Linked DNA regions of Homo sapiens: regions 1, 2, 3, 4, 6 and 7 are each linked to region 5. Evidence: promoter capture Hi-C in 16 types of primary human blood cells and fetal thymus (Javierre and others, 2016). All regions are on one chromosome and are shown on one strand. The core of a region is centred on a gene start or on the middle of the fragment in contact, and the rest is flanking DNA. Distances in the headings are between cores, read along the strand shown.

Region 1 (2,743 bases), core at 33-2,532, 170 kb after region 5:
TCACCCTTGGTAGTTTCTTTCCTTGTGTATTTGGTACAGGATCTACTTGTTTTGAAGGAGGAATGTCCTTTAGCATTTCTTGTTTGCCATGTTGCATGAAGAAATCGAATCAGGAGCTTCTCAACTCATGTGTCATGAATGGGTCATTGGCATGCTGAGATATTTACCCTTTCAGCTGGCTTGTCATCACTAGTTTGACCTGCTTTGTCTATTTATCTTAATGTGCTAGGCACAAGGAAATAAATCAAGTGGGATATTTGGATCAGAGGGCTGGAAATTATTTGAAATCATTAAGGAATAATCTTGCTTCTTAAAGGAAGTAAGGTAGATTAAGGCATCTGATGATTAATTGACACTGCAAATTATTTTCAATTAAAATATAATCCCAGGTTGTTACCTGTAGCATCTTGAAGGACTGTCAAGTAATCATATTAAATTTAATATTATTACTATTATTATGAACCTAAATAACTGTATACAAAAAAACAGAGAGTGATAAATATTAAATTCTAAACTACTTATAAAATCCAATACTTTATTCTGGTCTTTAGTCATCAACTAACAGAAGACAATGGAGGCTGTGTGTTGTAGTGAAGAGCATCAGATTTGGTGTCATAAGATGTGAGTTCTAATTCTGACTAAATTGCTCTCTATCCATATGACTTCAGGTAAAACTTCTTTTCAGTATGTTTTCCAATTGTGGGGAACAAATGAACAGCAATGCAACTGATTTTTGTGGATGGTTTATTGGGTGGGACAAACACTAAGCATAGAGTTTGGCAGGTTCTGTTTCCCATTTTGCATTTGAGTATGTGCTTAAGACACAAACACTTTTTGAGATAAACAGCAATCTAAATACTTTGTTTCAGCTTGTTTTCAAAGTAACCGTTTACATTTATTTTTTTAGGAACGATGTTATACTTCATTATTCAACTTTATTTGAACATGGAAAAATATTTTTAAAAACATGGGACATGGAAAAATATAAAAAATTTAATTTTTAATATATTCTTTAACATGTTAAGAAAACCCAGATTTCTAGAATCTAATTTATAGTTATAACTAATATGAAATATTGACCATCTGTAAATATGTCAACTTTCCCCAAATTAATCTCTAGAATCAATGTAATTGCTATTAAAATTGTTAAAAGGAGGTACAATGACAATCTGGGTTTAAAGGTTAAAAATCTAAGGCACAACTAGGAATAGAAAGAAACTCTCTCAACATAATAAAGGCTATTTATGAAAACCCTACAACTAACATCATGCTGAATGGTAAAAGACTAAAACCTTTTCATTTAAGATCAGAAACAAGACAAGGATGCCCACTTTTGCCACTTCTATTCTACATGGTACTAGAAGTCCTAGCCAGAGCAATTAGGCAAGAAAAAGAAATCAAAGGTATTCAAATTGGAAAGGAAGAAGTACAAAGATCTGTTTACAAATGACATGACTTTGTATATAGAAAATCCTAAAGATTCCACAAAAACCTGTTAGAATGAATAAACAAATTCAGCAAAGCTGCAAGATGTAAAATCAACACAGAAAAAGCAGTTGCATTTCTATACACAAACAATGACTAATCCAAAAAGGAAATTAAGAAAACAATTAAGGCCAGGTGCAGTGACTCACATCTGTAATCCCAGCACTTTGGCAGGCCAAGGCAGGCGGATCACTTGAGGCCAGGAGTTTGAGATCAGCCTGGCCAACAAAGTGAAACACTGTCTCTACTGAAAATACAAAAAATTAGCCAGCTGTGGTGGTGCATGCCTGTAATACCAGCTACTTGGCAGGCTGAGGCATGAGAATAGCTTGAACCTGGGAAGTGGATGTTGCAATGAGCTGAGATCATGCCACCACACTCCAGCCTGAGCAATAAAGTGAGACTTTGTCTCAAAATAATAATAATAATAATAAAAAAATTAAAAATAAAAAAATCAAAAAGAATAAAATACATAGGAATAAACTTAACCAAAGAGCAAAAGTCTTATACACTGAAAACTACAAAACATTGATGAAAAAAATTAAAGACACAAATAAATGGAAAGACATCTGTGCCTGTGGACTGAAAAGACTCGGTGTTTTGTGTGTGTGTGTGTGTTTTTGTTGTTGTTGTTTTTTTTACAGTTGGGGTCTTGTTGCCCACCCTGGAGTGCAGTGGCATGATCCTAGCTCACTGTAGCCTTGAACTCCTGGGCTCAAGCAATCCTCTCAAGAAGCTAGGACTACAGACGTGCACTGCTGGGCCCAGCTAAATTTTTAAAAAATTAATTTTGTTATGTAGTAGATGTTGGTGCTCCACCCAGAGCCCCTTGGATCCTTTCTTCACTTGTTTTGGTTATTTTCTCTAGAGTCTGCTTTGCTCAAACACAGAGACCCTTAGAAGTACTTGGAAATTTATGGTCCCTGGGATGGCCCTGATCCTATGACCAATACATGCGAGAGTATAAAGACTCTAGCTCCCTCATCTGAGATGGAGACAATTCTGAGGCATAAATTTCATTCTAGAGCTCTCTTGTATGATCTGGCTAAAGCTATGCTTTGCTGGACTTTTGAGAGTTCAGCCTTGGTTGACACTTCTTCATCTTCCCCGTCCTGCTTCTCCCACTCCCTTGCTAGTCTCCTCTGGGAGCACTTCCTTAATAATCACTTGAACACAAATTATGGTGTCAAGATCTGCAACTGGGAACCTGACTTAACAACACCTAAGGATAAATAGAGAATTACTGTGAATTTACCTT
Region 2 (2,813 bases), core at 255-2,754, 180 kb before region 5:
CCTCCCTCCCTCTTGGCTTTTCTCCTCTGTGGCTCCCTCCATCTTCCACCTCAGATATGGCCAGCCTGGCCTGATCTTTAGGGAACACTTTCTCCTGATAGAGAGCAAAGAGTGTTGCAGAAATTCTGAAATGTGAATGACGTCACTCTCCCTCATTCTTTGAATCTGCCCTGGATCCTGCCCAGTCTAATGGTGGAGCTCATGGCTGAGAGGAGTCCTTGGGGACAGTAGGGGGCCAAGTTAGGATTCCCTTAGAAATGGGGACACTCATAGACATTCTTCTACCTCACCTTAGGGAGAAGACAGTTCTGCAGTCTACCAATCGAAAACTGGAGCGGAAAGTTAAAGAACTATCCATCCAGATTGAAGACGAGCGGCAGCATGTCAATGACCAGAAAGACCAGGTGAGGACATGGCACCCTGGAGCCAAGCAACCTGGGGCAGGTATATATTATATGTTTTCCTGAAAGCCAAGGGAGGCCCTTATCTCCTATAGGTCCTCCAAACTTAGACTTTCCTTGTATAAGGACAGAGATTAGATTGAAAAGACTAGACTAGAGAAGTCATGGTAAGCGTATATATTGAGTGCTTATGATGTGCTAGGTTCTGTAAGTATTACACATGTGTTAATACATTTAATCCCTAAGACAACCATGTGAGGTTAAGGAACTTGCCCAAGGCCACATTTTTCCAGCGGCAATTATACCTTGTCAAGATTGTTATGGGGGAGGGTCCCAGGCCATGGTAGTAGATGCTATTCAGATGTGTGGACTTGGTATCCTGCCCAGCTAAGCCTGAGGGTGAAGGCTTTGAAGCGTCAGGTGGATGAAGCAGAAGAGGAAATTGAGCGACTGGACGGCCTGAGGAAGAAGGCCCAGCGTGAGGTGGAGGAGCAGCATGAGGTCAATGAACAGCTCCAGGCCCGGATCAAGTCTCTGGAGAAGGACTCCTGGTATGGGCTACCCTTTTGCCCTTGCTCCATAGGGACACTAGAGCAGGGAGGGAATGGTCTCTCCTGTGCTGGATAAGGAGGAGAATCTCTAACATGGTACTGTGTAGTCACTTGTTTCTGGTTGGAAGCCAGTATATTTATTTATTAGTATCTCAGCCACCATCCTGTACCTCCCCAAATCTGATTAGTTGGGGATTTTGTGAATAAACTTTAGGCCTTAGAAGAATTGGGGTTTCCTTTGTACAAAAAGGGTGGCTGTCTTAATATTTCTATTTTCCCCTCCCCAACCATTATTCTTCTCTCTGAGTCAGGCGCAAAGCTTCCCGCTCAGCTGCTGAGTCAGCTCTCAAAAACGAAGGGCTGAGCTCAGATGAGGAATTCGACAGTGTCTACGATCCCTCGTCCATTGCATCACTGCTTACGGAGAGCAACCTACAGACCAGCTCCTGTTAGCTCGTGGTCCTCAAGGACTCAGAAACCAGGCTCGAGGCCTATCCCAGCAAGTGCTGCTCTGCTCTGCCCACCCTGGGTTCTGCATTCCTATGGGTGACCCAATTATTCAGACCTAAGACAGGGAGGGGTCAGAGTGATGGTGATAAAAAAAAAAAATCATCAGCAATAAGCTGATAGATGGACTTTCCACTGTAGGAGTGGACATTTCAAGCCAACTGAGCCTTTTCCTCAAGTGCCGACACCTCCCTCATCTCTCTTATAGTGGAAGGATGGTCAGCATTAGGCTGATGGGGACTGAGAAGGATAGGAAGGGATAGAAATTGCCATGTGTATAAAGCTTTATTCTTTAGCCCTTAACCCTAAGGCTCAGGGAAATACCCTATGTTATTGTGCTCCCTGGATTCCTGCAACTCATTTTCCTTCCACTCTGGAGCAGGGTGAGGGGAATGTTATGGGTAACAGACATGCAGGCATGGCTCTACCCATTTCTTTGCACAAGTATGGGGCCCATGTGGTAGTCCCCATACCCCTCCAGTTCCTATATTTTTGTCTTCTTCCTTTCCCCTCTTTGCCATTCCTACCTTGCATTTTTCCTGTCAGTGCCTTAGCCAAGGCAAGGAGATAAGGATGCTCTTCTTGCTTTTTATATCTGCACATTCATACCTCTCCAAAGACCAGCTTTTCCCCAGCCAGGGCCCTCAGCCTTCCCTGCTGCCCCAGTGATTGATTGAGAGAGCTGTTGGGGTTTCTCTGCCAATGACCCCTGGGAGAGGGACTTTGGTAGGGTCATGATAAAGTGGCGGGGGTCTGGTCCTGCTCAGGGTTTTCATCCTTCCTCCTCTCCCTCCTCTGTGACTGTGGATATGGTTATAAGGTGGTTGCACCTGGGAGCCCTGACAACTGGCTGCACAAATTCCAAAAGTAAAGGTGTCAGTCCCTGTGGCCTTCCTTGGGGCTTCTCTGACCACATGTGCCCAACTTCAATAAGAGAACCAAGGGACCCTCATTTTCTGAGGTGCTTGGCTCTGATTCAGGGCTTTGCAAGGGGTTAGAAGCTGACTGTAAAAATGGGAAGAGGCAACGGAAGACATTTATTTCTCCTTTGGATTTTGGGGAGAACCAAGCCCTGGTAGGGAAGAGGTAAGGGGGATGATTCACCTCCATATTTCCTAAGCAGGTTGTATAGGGAGCCGGTGGCAGGAGGAAGGCTGTTTTCACAAATGACTTGTAATGTCGTGATTAAAAAAATTCCTATATTCTTCTGCAAATCAAACGTTCTTTCCCAATCCAATCCAGCCTTGGTTTTATTTTAAATTAAATATTAAAATTACACATTTATATTGAAATCCTTGGTTTGTCTTCTCATTCTTTTTCTTGGCATATTTGGAGGTCCAGATTTTATGAAGTC
Region 3 (2,700 bases), core at 1-2,500, 150 kb after region 5:
GAGACTGGGTAAATTTCTAAAGGAAAGAAGTTTAATTGACTCGCAGTCCTGCATGGCTGGGGAGGACACAGGAAACTTACAATCATGGCAAAAAGGAAAGAAAACACATCCTTCCTGACATAGCAGGAGAGAGAAGTGCTGAGTGAAGTGGGGAAAAGCCCTTTATAAAACCATCAGATCTCATGAGAATGCACTCACTACCACGAGAACAGCATGGGGGAACTGCCCCCATGATCTAATCACCTTCCACAAGGTCCTGTCCCCAACACATGGGGATTACAATTTGGATTACAATTCAAGATGAGATTTTGGGTGGGGACACAGCCAAACCATATCAATCACTAATCTATTTTCTGTCTCTATGGAGTTGCCTATTCTAAATATAGTATTGTTTTCTTTCACTTAATGTGATGCTTTTGAGGTTTATCCAAGCTGCAGCATGTTTCAGTATTTCATTCCTTTGTATGGCTGAATAATAGTCTATTATGTGTGTGTGTGTGTGTACTACAATTTGTTTATCTATTCATTCATTAATGGCCATTTGGGTTGTTTCCACATTTTGGCTATTACGAATAATGCTATTATAAACACTAGTGTACAAGCTTCTGTGTGGATGCGTGTTTTCATTTCTCTTTTATTTATACCTAGCAGTGGAATTGCTGGGTCATATAGTAATTGTATGTCTTTTTGGGGAACTGCCAAATTTTCCGTAGCAGCTGCATTATTTTATATTCACCCAGCAATGTATGAAGTTTCTATTTTTTTTTTTTACATCCTCCTTGACACTGTTTTTAAAAACGAAAAATTATAGACCAGCCTGGCCAAGATGGTGAAACCCCATCTCTACTAAAAATACACAAAAAAATTAGCCAGGTGTGGTGGTGGGTGCCTGTAATCTCAGTTACTTGGGAGGCTGAGGCAGGAGAATCACTTGAACCTGGGAGGCGGAGGTTGCAGTGACCCCAGGTCGCGCCATTGCATTCCAACCTAGACAACAAGGGCGAAACTCCATCTCAAAAAAAAAAAATAAAATAAAATAAAAAAATTATAGGCATTTTAGTAGGTGTGGTCATTGTGGTTTTGATTTGCATTTTTCTAATGATTAGTGATGTTGAGGCTCTTTTCATATACTTGTTAGCCATTTCCATTTCCATATCTTCTTTGGAGAAATGTCCATTCAAGTTCTTCCCCCATTTTTAAACTGGGTTCTTTGTTGTTGAGTTGTAAGAATTCCTTATATATTCTGAATGCGAACACCTTTTTGGATATATAATTTGCAAATATTTTTCCCATTCTGTAGGGATTTTTTTTCACTTCACTGATATTATTCTTTAATGCACAAAAGATGAATTTTTTTTTTTTTTTTTTGAGATGGAGTCTTGCTCTGTCGCCCAGGCTAGAGTGCAGTGGCGCAATCTCGGCTCACTGCAAGCTCCGCCTCCCGGGTTCATGCCATTCTCCTGCCTCAGCCTCCTGAGTAGCTGGGACTACAGGCACCCGCCACCATGCCTGGCTAATTTTTTGTATTTTTAGTAAAGATGGGGTTTCACCATGTCAGCCAGGATGGTCTCGATCTCCTGACCTTGTGATCCGCCTGCCTCGGCCTCCCAAAGTGCTGGGATTACAGGCTTGAGCCACCGCACCCAGCCAATGAAGTTTTGTACCCTGCAATTTTGCTGAATTTATTTATTAGTGCTAGTTTTGTTTTTTTGGTGAATTCTTTGGGATTTTCTATATGTAGACATGTCATCTGCAAATAGAGATAATTTTACATCTTCCTTTCTAATTTGCAAGCTGTTTTTGTTTTTCTTGCTTAATTCCTCTGGGTAAGACTTCCAGTACTATATTGAATAGCAGTAGTGAAGGTGGAAATCCTTACCTTTTTCCTAACGTTAGGGGAAAGCTTTCTGTCTTTTATCACTGAGTGTGATACCAGCTGTGCATTTTTCTAGATTATGTTCAGGTAGTCTTTTTCTATTCCTAGTTTTCTGAGTGCTTTTTGTCATGAAAGGGTGTTGGATTTTGTCAAATGCCATTCCTTGCACCAATTGAGATGATCATGTGGTTTTACTCTCTTGAAGTATAAATGTGGTGTATTACATTGATTTATTTTCTTATGTTGAACCACCTCTGCCTTTCTGGGATAAATCTCACTTGGTCATAGCATATAATCTTTTTAATGTGCTATTGGATTTGCTTGTTATCTTGTTGAGTATTTTTGCATCTATACTCGTAAGGGATATTGATCTGTAGTTTTGACTTTTTTTTTCCTCTTATGGTATCTTTGTCTGCAGTCCACTTAATTTTAAATCTATAATTGAGAAGGAATAAACCAATTCTGTAATTCTAAACTGGCCAGAGTAGTGCCAGACCAAGAATACTATCAAGTGAAATTTCAAACTTTTCTGAGACATAAAATTCATGACTTTAGTGACTTAAATTTGAAAGATTGCCTCATTGTCTCCATCACAGAGGATGTTGTATACTTGGTCCTGAAAAATATGTTTGACTAGGGTCCCATGATGGTCATCCATTAGGTAAGACAATAATTTGGCTTCATAAGTCCCCAGAAGAGGTTAAGCGTCCTGAGAAGGTAATGGGATAGGGAACATAGGAACATGTAGGATATGAGCTTCCTTAATACAGAAGAAAAGGTTTTTCTTAACTTATATATTTCATTCCATCTTCCCATTAGAGAAA
Region 4 (2,862 bases), core at 222-2,721, 220 kb before region 5:
TGACTAATGGGAGCAAAACTCTATCTGAGCTAACCATGCACAGTATACAGAATCAGCAAATATTAATAGTTAAGTGTAGATATGTGAAGTCTATGTGGCCACAGCTCCTGGCTCATATCTCTCAATGCCCCTGTTACAGTCTTTTTTTTTTTCTTTTTCTTTTTCTTTTTTTTTTTTTTTTTGAGATGGAGTTTCACTTTTGTTGCCCAGGCTGGAGTGCAATGACGCAATCTTGGCTCACTGCAACCTCCGCCTCCTGGGTTCAAGTGATTCTCCTGCCTCAGCCTCCCAAGTAGCTGGGATTACAGACATACGTCACCACGCCCGGCTAATTTTGTATTTTTAGTAGAGACGGGGTTTCTCCATGTTGGTCAGGCTGGTCTTGAACTCCCGACCTCAGGTGATCCACCTGCCTTGGCCTCCCAAAGTGCTGGGATTACAGGCGTGAGCCACCGTGCCCGGCCTACAGTCTTTTGTTATAATGTTAGGACACTTTAGGATTCAGAGGCCGGCCTCAGAAAGCAGACTTTCTTGCTATCTGACTTTCTCCCGCTCTTATTTATTTATTCATTTATTTATGTTTTGAGATAATGTCTCACTCTGTTGCCCAGGTTGAAGTGCATTGGTGTAATCACTGCTCACTGCAGCTTTGATCTCCTGTACTCAATCAATCCTCCCACCTCAGGCTCCTGAGTAGCTGGGACTACAAGTGTGCACCACCATGTCCGGCTAATTTTTTATTTTTTGTAGAGACACTCTCCCTATGTTGCCCAGGCTGGTCTTAAACTCATGAGCTCAAGCAATCCACCTGCTTCGGCCTTCCAAAGTGTGGGAATTACAGGCATGAGCCACCACACCGGGCCTTCCTGTTCTCATTGCACCTGCCAGATGCAGGACTCTAATCTGATTGTGAGTCATAAGACCCTGATTGCAGAGAGGGTCCTACCCCGTAGCCTGGAGGAAGGAAGGCTGCATAGAGAGACCAAGAAGAATCTAACAGACATGCATCTCTCCATTCACATCCTCTGTCATATCCTTTCTAATAAGCTGGTAAACGAAGTGTCTCCCTTAGTTCTGTGAGCTGCTCTAGCAAATGAATTGAGTCCAAAGAGGGGGCTGTAGGAGCCCCAACTTGAATCTGCTGGGTCAGAAATTCTGGAGTCTTGGGTTTTGACTGGTGTCTGAATGGGGTGGGTGGGGGCAGTTTTGGGGTTTGAGCCCTCAACCTGTGGCCTCTTGGTAGATGGTGTCAGAATCGAATTAGAGGACACCCAGCTGGTGTCTGCTGCAGAACTGATTGCTTGTTTGCTGGTGGGGAGAAATCCTCCATATTTGGTCACAGGAGTCTTCTGTCTGTGTTGATTGTTACTGTTGAGTGAGATAACAGGAACAAACACTCTGAGTTTGTGTGTTTTCCCACACACAAGATCCCTATCTCCATTCTCCCTCCTGCTTCAGTCTTCCTTCTCTGAGGTTCTCAGATGCCCTCCCACCTCCTATATCCCCTCCAGTGTCCTGCACTTTCCTTCTTTGCCCTCTGACTTGAACCTAACAATGGTAAGTTTTCTTTGAAGTCTGATGCTACTTTCTAGCCTTGCTTGCCAAAGGTTGAGATTACCCCCACCTATGGCCATAAACTTGTTTTGTATCTATTAATTTATTTAAATTTCTTTCCTATTTAGGGTAGCTGGCAGGTATTATTAGTACCGAGTCTCCAGTGCAACTCTAAGCAAGAAGTTGCTCCTTCTAATACTGGGGACTGCAGGCCGGGCGCGGTGGCTCACGCCTGTAATCCCAACACTTTGGGAGGCCAAGGCGGGCAGATCACAAGGTCAGGAGAATGAGACCATCCTGCTAACACGGTGAAACCCCGTCTCTACTAAAAATACAAAAAATTAGCCAGGCGTGGTGGTGGGTGCCTGTAGTCCCAGCTACTCAGGAGGCTGAGGCAGGAGGATGGTGTGAACCCGGGAGGTGGAGCTTGCAGTGAGCCGAGATCACGCCACTGCACTCCAGCCTGGGCAACAGAGTGAGACTGCGTCTCAAAAATATATATATATATTGGGGGCTGCAAAAAGTAAAGACAGGGAATTTGAGAAGGAGTGCTGGTATACGGGGGAAGTTACTTTGCTTGGTTTGTCTGTGTCCTAAGTAGAGATGAGACGTACAAGTGCAAAAGTTCTGGAGAAAGTTAAATACTGATTCAGTACATGGATGAGAGGTCGGTGTTTAAAATGGAGATTTGAAAGTTGTCTGCTTTTGGAGGTGGCAGGAGAAAGCATGAGAGTGAATGAGCCACTGAAGGGGAAGAGTGGAGGGCAGAGGAAAGGAAAGAGCTTTTTCACAGCTATGGGGAATAGCTGAGAAAGGAAAAAAGTACCCACAGGGACAGGGGAGGGCTAGAGCTGTAGAAAATAATAGAGCAGTGGTATAGAAATCCAAGGAGAAAAGAGTGTGAAAAAATAGGGAGCAGAAGCACAAGAGACATCCGGTAGAAGGAGGACTCAGAAAAGCCTTCAGTTTCCAAGCTCAACTGCAGGTGAGGGACAAGGGAACTTGGAATTACTGCATATAAACTGCTTGAAGATGGTGAATAGAAAGGAAAGAAATATGGCCAGGTGCGGTGACTCACACCTGTAATTCCGGCACTTTGGGAGGCTGAGGCGGGCAGATCTCCTGAGGTCAGGAGTTCAAGACCAGCCTGGACAACATGATGAAACATCATCTCTACCAAAAATACAAAAGTTAGCCGGGTGTGATGGCACACACCTGTAGTCCCAGCTACTTGGGAGGCTGAGGTAGGAGAATCTCTTGAACCCAGGAGGTGGGCCAAGATTGCGCCACTGCACTCCAGCCTGGGCG
Region 5 (2,700 bases), core at 79-2,578:
TCCCAATATTATCTGAGGCTGCTCAGATTCTCAGTCTTGCTGCACACGCACACACACACACACCCCTACCCAGCTGCTTATCTCCCAAACCAGCTCTCTTGTCCCTCCATTCTTTCTTGAGTTCATCCCATGACATCAACACACCCATATGTCTGGGATCCACATCTTTGCAGCCGTCTTGACAACTCTTCAGCCAAAAGAGGCCCTCCTTAGTCCTTCACCGGGGTTTCCTGATCACTCTAGCTGAGTTCTTTTTCAGCTCCTCCATCCACTTTCCTCAGGCCTGAACTCTTCTCCTTCCACATCAGCCCTTCCCAGCCGCTCCACCCCTCCAGCCTGGCTTAACTTCCCCCAGCCTCCCAGCCCACCCCGAAGCCTCTTCAGCCTGCCCGACCCCTCACCCTTGTGCAGCCCGGTGTACTTGTCCTTGATGACAGTCAGCTCAAAGATCCGACCAAACTGTTCGAAGATGGGCTTCAGGTCCTTCTCCTCCAGATGCCTCGGGATCTGCCCCACAAACAGCTTGATGGCATCCGGCTCCTTCATTGAGGCGGCCCAGGAGGAGGGGCCGAGGGGAGCAGGGAGAGGCCCAAAGGCCAAGGGGAGCTGCCCAGCAAGGAGATAAGTGGTGGGGCCCGGGGGCCCAGCTGGGGCTGGCTTTCCCTTTGGCCCCCAACCACGCTGCTAAGCAGAGGGGCGGCTCTTCACACAAAGGAGGCCCAGGGAGTTGAGTGCTAGGGGTCAGGGGTCTAGGCAGACGCTGTCATGCCACCAGGGGGCATCGCCTAAACAAACGATCTCCCTCCCAGAGATCTGGCAAATGTCCCAGGATGGGGGTGAGTATGGCCAAGACCTGGAGGGTTAGGTGGTAGCCGGGGGTGCTAGGGCTTAGAGGGCTGGGAACTGGGAGTTGAGATGAGAGCTGGAGGCGGGGAAAGGGCCTGAGGAGGGTGATGGGGAGGAGACTGAGGGGTTAAGGGGCCTGCTATGGTTGCCAGCAGCGTCAGTAAGGGGGGCCCACTCCTGATGTGGGGCAGGTGAATCTCTCGTTGGCTTCCCTGGGAGGACACCTCCCCTGTGGCGGATCCTTCTGCTGGGTCCGAAGATCCCTGATGCCAGATGCTTGATCTCTGATGGCGGCAGGGCTCCAGGGGTCCCTTTTGCCCTGCCGCCCCCCTTCAGGTCCTCCCCTCAGCCCCCCTCCCACCCCCACCCCAGTCCCCGGGCCTGGGCTGCTGCCGGCTGCTCCCGCCGCTGGGGCTGCCTGCTTTCCCGGTCACCTGGGTCCCGGAGCTCTGCTCTCCGGCCGCGCTCTCCTCAACAAAAACCTCCCCCCTCCACACCCCCCTCCCCACTCCCACCTCCTTTCCCCTGACATCAGTGATGTCAGTCTCAGGGGTCGAATACAAATTCTCTACCCTGGAGAGGGACGCACAATCCAGGCACGAGCCACGCCCTCTTTCTATCTCCATCCTCCCTGACTCCCTTCCCGCCCCCAGAAGAGCAGCTGGTCCTGTTGATAATAACCCTTCCCCCATCTTACTCCCCAGTCAGGAGTTGGGCAAAGCACTAAGATGGAGAATTTATAGAGGAACCCTAAAGTGGGGTCCATTGTTCCGGGGGCTGGAGCTGTCCCCGGTGCTGGAAGACTCAGCAGATGGGGGGTGGCGGGGAAAGAGGGGAGCCCGGCATCTGGGGAGCCCCAAGAGTAGAGAGTCAAGGAAAGAAATCAGGGGAAAGAAAAATGAGAAAGGACGGTTGCATAGGCTGAAGGGAAAGGAGATATAGATGGAGAGGGAAGCAGGTCGCAGAGTCTGGGGGAAAAAGAAAAAATGCAGAGAGGAAAAATGGAAAGGGACGTGGAGAAGGAGGAGCAGGATGAGAAGAATGCAGAAAGAGAACTGTATATTTTCCAGAAAAGGAACCAAGAAAAACGATAGCTTTCTGGCATTTGCCGATGCCCCCTTCTCTCCCTCTGGGGGGTTTGTGTGTATAAGTGCGTGGGCAGGGAGGCCGCGGAGGCGGCGCCGCGGGCGCTCTCACTTGTAAGCTCCTTGAAGACCAGGACACCGTTTAATTCAGCATCTTACTGTTCACAGTGTCTAGCACCCTGTCTTGCTCATGCGTAGCAGGAGCTTAACAAACACTCCATGCAAACAACCTCTGACAACAGTGGATTCCTGATTCCTTCAGTGGGAAGAACCACAGCTGTCAAGCTTCCCCTTAGGATGCAGAAACCCAATTACTCTTTCCTTTGCTTCTTTCTTCAGTTGGGTTCTTTGAGTTGGACTCAAATTGAGCCAGGTAGCACAGAAGAGCAGGGGAGGCACATTCGGGGACCATTGCTCCCCTGACCATGGATACTTCTATGGATGATTGGCAGGCTCCACGATCTGGAGGGAGCGTGACCCCTCCATGCACTGGGCCCACTCAGAGCACGCCCTCAGTGCAGGGATTATCTGTGGACATCAAACCTTGTCAGTGGTGGTAGCCCTTGCTTTCTGTCAGTGCTCAGCAACGGGGGCTCTCCTGGGGCTCTGGGCTTTTGTAGAGCACCCTGTCTTCCTGTCATTCCCTTCTTCTCCCCCGGGGTAGGGCTGCTGTTTCCACAGAGGCACTCGTGTCTCTAAACTGTGTCCCAGCTGAGTCCCAGGGGCCTCCATTCCTGAGCTATCACGGCAGGCAGGCTTCTCTTCTGGA
Region 6 (2,807 bases), core at 139-2,638, 240 kb before region 5:
GCCATGTTGGCCAGGCTGGTCTTGAACTCCTGACCTCAAGTGATCCACCTGCCTCGGCCTCCCAAAGTGCTGGGATTACTGGCATGAGCCACCGCACCGGGCCCAATTTGGGCGTTTTAATCCAAACGTTAAGCTACTGAAAGTGGCCAGATTGGAGTGTGTGTAATGGGGGGAAGAAATGGGTGTAAAGATAGAAAGTTTCAGTCACAAACTTGTTAGCATGACAGAGAGCTCCCCTACTTGAGAAGGGACAAAGTCAATTCAAGACCTTTGGGCTTTCTGGCTGGATGCGGTGGCTCATGCCTATAATCTCAACACTTTGGGAGGCCAAGGCAGGTGGATCACCTGAGATCAGGAGTTCGAGAACAGCTTGACCAAAATGGTGAAACCCCGTCTCTACTGAAAATACAAAAATTAGCCGGGCGTGGTGGTGTGCGCCTGTAAATCCAGCTACTAAGGAGTCTGAGACAGGAGGATTGCTTGAACCCAGGACGCAGAGGTTGCAGTGAGCTGAGATTGCGCCACTGCACTCCAGCCTGGGCAACAGAGCAAGACTCCATCTCAAAACAAACAAACAAACAAACAAAGACCTTCAGGCTTTCATATAACCTATATGGGTGGATGAAATTTTAGAAATAAATAATAAGGGGAAAAAAGATAAATAAAAATTCAAATTTTAAAATAAAGTAAAATAGATCCATGGGGGTATCTGATGACATGATATTCCAGCAACTCAGATTTCTCTGGGACTCCACTGGAGACAGATCTTTCAGGCACATTTGTAATATGTCCACTGCCCAGGGGACAGGATAGAAGAGCCATAGAAAAAAAGGGAACTTGGCAGAATTGCCTTTGTATAACTTTCTTTCAGTAAAGAAAGTTATAGCTTTCTTTACTGAAATAATAGCTTTAAAGAGACAAATTATTCACAAATCATTAGTAGGAAATGTTGAGATGAGATGATAAGCAAGAAAGGTAATTAAAGTCTGTACTATTCTTAAAATGAAATACTGTCTAAGTATAGAGGAATAAATTAGATGACTTTTCAACCTTTCCAATCTAAGCATCCTTAAAAAGTTCCACTGTCTAGCACAGTGGTTTTTAAACATTTTTTGACAGCCACCCACAGTAAAAAGCATATTCTACATCTTGACTGGCTACACACAAACACACAGTACTTTTCATGATTCAGATTGTATGAAAGACTACTGATATTCACTATGTGATAGCTTTCTATTCTCTTTTATTACACCTCTTTTTTTTTTTTTTTTTTTTTTGAGACAGTGTCTTGCTCCGTTGCCCAAGCTGGAGTGCAGTGGCTTATAAAACATGGCTCACTGCAGCCTTGAACTCCTGGGCTCATGCAATCCTCCTGCCTCAGCCTCTGGAGTAGCTGGGACCACAGAAGTGCACCACCACACCCGGCTAGTTTTATTTTTATTTGTAGAGATGGGATCTCCCTATGTTGCCCAGTCTGGTCTCCAACCTGGGGCCTCAAGTGTTCCCCCTGCCTCGGCCTCCCAAAGTGCAGGGATTACAGCTTGGGCCACTGTGCCCAGCCCTTTCTTCCATCATTCCGTCCTCTCCTTCCTTCTTAATACTGCTTGTCAAACTGATTTTGCCACCCAGTTTGAAAAAGAAGGTCTAGAGGATTATCCCAATCATTAACTATTTCTGCAGGTTAGCTTACCTTTCCAGAATACAGAATAGAATTCAGCAAACTGCCTCAAAGAGCAGTTTCTAGATTTGACTTCTTCCTCTAGGGTTTATGAAGTCATCATACTGAAGTGACCTGGATTTCCCTATACGTGAACCTCATGACGTGGGAGCCCGGGGTAGGGAGGGACAGATAACATGAGAATCAATAGAAAGAACTGCAAGGTCTGAAGACAAGAACCATTTGTCTAGTGGAGTCTATTTTATATCCATTTTTTAAAAATCTCCATTTAAGATATTTAGCTTCAACGTGCACCTTGACCAATTAATCCAACAAACAAAACTCTGGCTTGGGGGCCCAGTTACTCACTTTCATGGAAAGAGACCTCTGTTTTTAGAACCAGGGATCTTGTGAGTCCCTCCCACGTCCCCAGCCCTTCTCTGGCCTCGGGTAACTTTTCCCTCCAGTTTGGTGGAAGGTTACATTAGAAGAAAATAGTCCCTACCGTCTAGAAAGTTTTCGGGGGGGGAAAAAAGGGCGTTGGACGTGCGGGTGGGTGGGTATACCGGGAGGGGACAGCTGGAGCCGCGAAGGCGCGGGGGCCCGCGGCGCGTGGGTGTGGAGGCCGCGGGGCGGCAGGAGGCACTGGGAAGCGGGGTGAAGAGCACCGAAGTCCAGAAAAGGGCAGTGTCCGCCCTGCGCTCCTCTGCTGGCGCCCGCAACCCGGGAGGGAGCGGCGAGGCTCCGAAGGGTGGGATTCGAGGTCTGAACCCTCGAGTGGGCTTGGGTTTTCAGGAGCCGCCTTTTCTTATTGATCATTTCTCTTTTGTCATCATAATCTCTTGGCCTCAGACTGAGTTAAGGGAGCCATAGTAGGAGTGCAGAAAATGAAGTGGAGGAAAAAAAAATGTGATATTTAAAATATAGTTTTTCCTACTTTCTTTTTCTCTCTCAAATTAATTTAGATGTAAATAACATTTTAACAGGGCCCAACATCAGGCTCCTAGGCTCTGGCTGCTGGTCTCACTTGACACCAGAATAAGATTTTGGTGTGCTAGTAATTTTGCCAAATGGAGGCCTACTCCCCAAAACATCACCGTGGTGCATGATGAACATTTCTGTAGGTGATGACGTGGAGTTTTTGTTTTAC
Region 7 (2,700 bases), core at 170-2,669, 150 kb before region 5:
GCTTCCTTGCTGCTGGCCTCTTACCCAAGTACTGCCTGGAGCCGACTCTGGTGATGCGAGCGTGGGAGCCCCTCCTTTCAGCAACATCCAGCTTGCCTCAGCCTTCTGCACTGCTTTGGGGCAGGAGGAGTCCCCCACTAAAATTAAAACTAAACTGCTACTTCTGTCCATTCTCCCTGGCCGGTGTTCTTGCTGCTGTGTGGCTTCTGTTAGAAGTTCGGAAACGAATTTTTGGAGAGGAAAGTCAGACTAATCCTTCAAGTCTTTTGAGAAACAGGTCTTCTGCATTAGCTGAGGGGCAGGAGTTCTGGGCTTGCCATGTGGTGTCTGAGCCATCTCTCTCTCTCTCTCTCTCTCTCATCTCTCTTTGGCCAGGCGGGCAGGAAGACCTATGCCATGGTGTCCAGCCACTCAGCTGGTCATTCTCTGGCTTCAGAACTGGTGGAGTCCCATGATGGACATGAGGAGATCATTAAGGTAAGCTTAGTTCACCTCCAACTTTTCTCCCTGTCCTCTTCCTCCCTGCACGTATATGAGAAGGAGCAGTTGATGTTGTTGCCAAAGGGAGCTTGTGGTTTGATGGAAGGAACCAGACCTGAGCTGCTAGTTCCTGGCAATCTCCTAGAAATATCTTAATTAATACCAGGAGACTACAGTCTGCCTGTTAGCAACTTTGGTGCAGCCTGGCCCCAGGCAAGGGGATGGACTGGATGACCTTACTAGGGGCCTATCCACTGACCATGTTTTGCTGCTAGAGGTTGTGGAGACAGGTAGGAGGTGTGTTTATGGAACTTATGTTTTCCTATAATGGGTTCATCCTGATGGAACTTATTTATTTATTTATATATTTTTAGTTTTGTAGAGACAGTCTCGCCTTGTTCCCTGGGCTGGTCTCCAAATCCTGGGCTCGAGCAATCGTCCTGTCTCAGCCTCCCAAAATGCTGGTATTATAGGCGTGCACCAGCCCACCTGGCTGATGGAACTTATTTTTTAAAAAATAAAATGATTTTTGTTATTTCTCTCTCTCTTTTTTTTTATAAAACAGCTTTTTTAGATATAAATCCCATACCACATGATTGACTCAGTTACAGTTTTGGTCAGTGCATAACAAAACTGCATAACAACGTTTTGGTCAGTGATGGACTGCGTAGACAACAGTGGTCCCATAAGATTATTATACTCCATTTTTACTGTATTTTTTCTGGGTTTAGATACATTACCATTGTGTGACGATCACCTACAGTATTCAGTACAGTAACATGCTGTGCAGGTTTGTTTGTAGCCTAGGAGCAATAGGGTACACCATACAGCCTAGGGGTGTAGGAGGCCATGCCATCTAGGTTTGTGTGTGTACACTCTGTGATGTTTGTACAAGGATGAAATTGCCTAATGATGCATCCCTCAGAATGTATTCCTATGATTAAGTGATGCATGACTGTATATATGTGAGTGTTTATGCCAATACAGCTATATAGCATTGAGCTAAATTTATTGCATTAGGGTAAATTTCCAGAAGTAGAACTGATAGACCAAAAAGTAAATATATTTTTAGGTCTTCTGATCCGAATCACCAAATTCCACCCAGTAAATTGGTGGTAACAATTTACCCTCCCACCAGCACTATATGAAGCTGCCTATTTTTGTATAGTTAATTTAATTTGAGGTTTCTTAACTAAATGGTGTTCTTATTTCAGGTGTACTTGAAGGGGAGGTCTGGAGACAAGATGATTCACGAGAAGAATATTAACCAGCTGAAGAGTGAGGTCCAGTACATCCAGGAGGTGGGCACCCCTTACCTCTCACGCAGTGCCTAGGTCATTTCTCTAAATCTCACATTTTTTGTGACTGTCTTCTTTTGTGGATTCTGGTTTTTCCCCTTCTTTTTCCTTTATGTCTCTGAAATGCCACCATGCCCTCCCGTGTGTCAAATATATAACTTTTGACCATACCTGATCCATTAATCCACAAATACTTAAGTACTATGGGCCCAGCACTGTCCCAGCCACCTATCGAAAATTACCAGCCACTTTTCACAGCATTTCTTAACTCCCTTCCTGGCTCGTGTTTCTCGTTGGCACTTATGCCCATATAACATATTACACATTTTACTTATTTGTCTTTTGTGTCTTGTGTCTCCCCAACAAGAATGTCAGCTGTAGCTCCACTTGACCAAGGTCCCTCCCTCCATCCTGCAGCCAGTCGTTAGGACAGTGCCTGACTCGCAGTACAGGCCAGGGATGGGGCACAGAGTTGGGTGAGTTGGCATGCTCTCTTTCTCTACCCTAAAGCTCAAGTTTCTTCCCCTCCCCTCCCAGGCCAGGAACTGCCTACAGAAGCTCCGGGAGGATATAAGTAGCAAGCTTGACAGGAACCTAGGAGATTCTCTCCATCGACAGGAGATACAGGTAATAGGAAATGGTCCATGGTTGGGTCCCCACCGAGGAGGTGGGGTTGTGCCAGGCAGTCTCATTTACCAATTACCCAGTGTGTGCTAAATCTAGCATCCCTGCCAGGAATGGAGAAAATAGAGGTGATGCTGGCTTCTCTGGAGCACTCACAATCTGGTTAGGACTCTCCAGCCGATGAGCACTTACATTTACACATGTCAGCTTAAACATAAGTACACCTGCTCCTGAAACACTGTACAGAAATTGAACTTATATAAATTAAATATCATCAGTTGTTAGCAAACCTCTTATC

The links. The method cuts DNA at HindIII sites, captures the fragments that hold promoters and counts their contacts. A CHiCAGO score of 5 or more calls a contact.
Region 1: a contact is called between a fragment that was not itself captured here and the fragment with the promoter of CELF3 in region 5, in 1 of 17 cell types (megakaryocytes). The highest score is 5.6, in megakaryocytes.
Region 2: a contact is called between a fragment that was not itself captured here and the fragment with the promoter of CELF3 in region 5, in 10 of 17 cell types (M0 macrophages, M1 macrophages, endothelial precursors and 7 more). The highest score is 24.5, in M0 macrophages.
Region 3: a contact is called between a fragment that was not itself captured here and the fragment with the promoter of CELF3 in region 5, in 2 of 17 cell types (M2 macrophages and M0 macrophages). The highest score is 5.4, in M2 macrophages.
Region 4: a contact is called between a fragment that was not itself captured here and the fragment with the promoter of CELF3 in region 5, in 7 of 17 cell types (M0 macrophages, M2 macrophages, M1 macrophages and 4 more). The highest score is 12.4, in M0 macrophages.
Region 6: a fragment that was not itself captured here is called in contact with the fragment with the promoter of CELF3 in region 5 in 5 of 17 cell types (M1 macrophages, erythroblasts, M2 macrophages and 2 more); the score reaches 8.1 in M1 macrophages.
Region 7: a fragment that was not itself captured here is called in contact with the fragment with the promoter of CELF3 in region 5 in 11 of 17 cell types (M1 macrophages, M0 macrophages, M2 macrophages and 8 more); the score reaches 17.9 in M1 macrophages.

The regions. Positions count from the first base shown.
Region 1 is chr1:151,885,533-151,888,275 of GRCh38, forward strand. THEM4 (thioesterase superfamily member 4) reads right to left here. Exons shown (of 6, transcript NM_053055.5): 4 at 2,741-2,743. Among named protein-coding and RNA genes, the nearest start is that of THEM4, 23 kb to the right of the region's middle. The HindIII fragment of the contact is 5,004 bases long and covers 1-2,743 here.
Region 2 is chr1:151,535,942-151,538,754 of GRCh38, forward strand. CGN (cingulin) reads left to right here. Exons shown (of 21, transcript NM_020770.3): 19 at 296-404; 20 at 789-952; 21 at 1,264-2,751. The coding sequence ends at 1,405. Among named protein-coding and RNA genes, the nearest start is that of TUFT1, 3.0 kb to the right of the region's middle. The HindIII fragment of the contact is 471 bases long and covers 1,270-1,740 here.
Region 3 is chr1:151,868,119-151,870,818 of GRCh38, forward strand. No RefSeq gene overlaps it. Among named protein-coding and RNA genes, the nearest start is that of THEM5, 16 kb to the left of the region's middle. The HindIII fragment of the contact is 1,301 bases long and covers 601-1,901 here.
Region 4 is chr1:151,490,953-151,493,814 of GRCh38, forward strand. No RefSeq gene overlaps it. Among named protein-coding and RNA genes, the nearest start is that of CGN, 19 kb to the right of the region's middle. The HindIII fragment of the contact is 6,284 bases long and covers 1-2,862 here.
Region 5 is chr1:151,715,475-151,718,174 of GRCh38, forward strand. It overlaps CELF3 (CUGBP Elav-like family member 3), which reads right to left and starts at 1,329. Exons shown (of 13, transcript NM_007185.7): 1 at 402-1,329. The coding sequence starts at 546. It also overlaps a transcript of RIIAD1 not described here. RefSeq lists an enhancer at 1,259-1,553. The HindIII fragment of the contact is 2,919 bases long and covers 1-2,214 here.
Region 6 is chr1:151,471,234-151,474,040 of GRCh38, forward strand. No RefSeq gene overlaps it. Among named protein-coding and RNA genes, the nearest start is that of POGZ, 13 kb to the left of the region's middle. The HindIII fragment of the contact is 4,139 bases long and covers 1-2,807 here.
Region 7 is chr1:151,562,210-151,564,909 of GRCh38, forward strand. It overlaps TUFT1 (tuftelin 1), which reads left to right. Exons shown (of 13, transcript NM_020127.3): 3 at 376-477; 4 at 1,695-1,781; 5 at 2,316-2,405. Among named protein-coding and RNA genes, the nearest start is that of MIR554, 18 kb to the left of the region's middle. The HindIII fragment of the contact is 1,878 bases long and covers 481-2,358 here.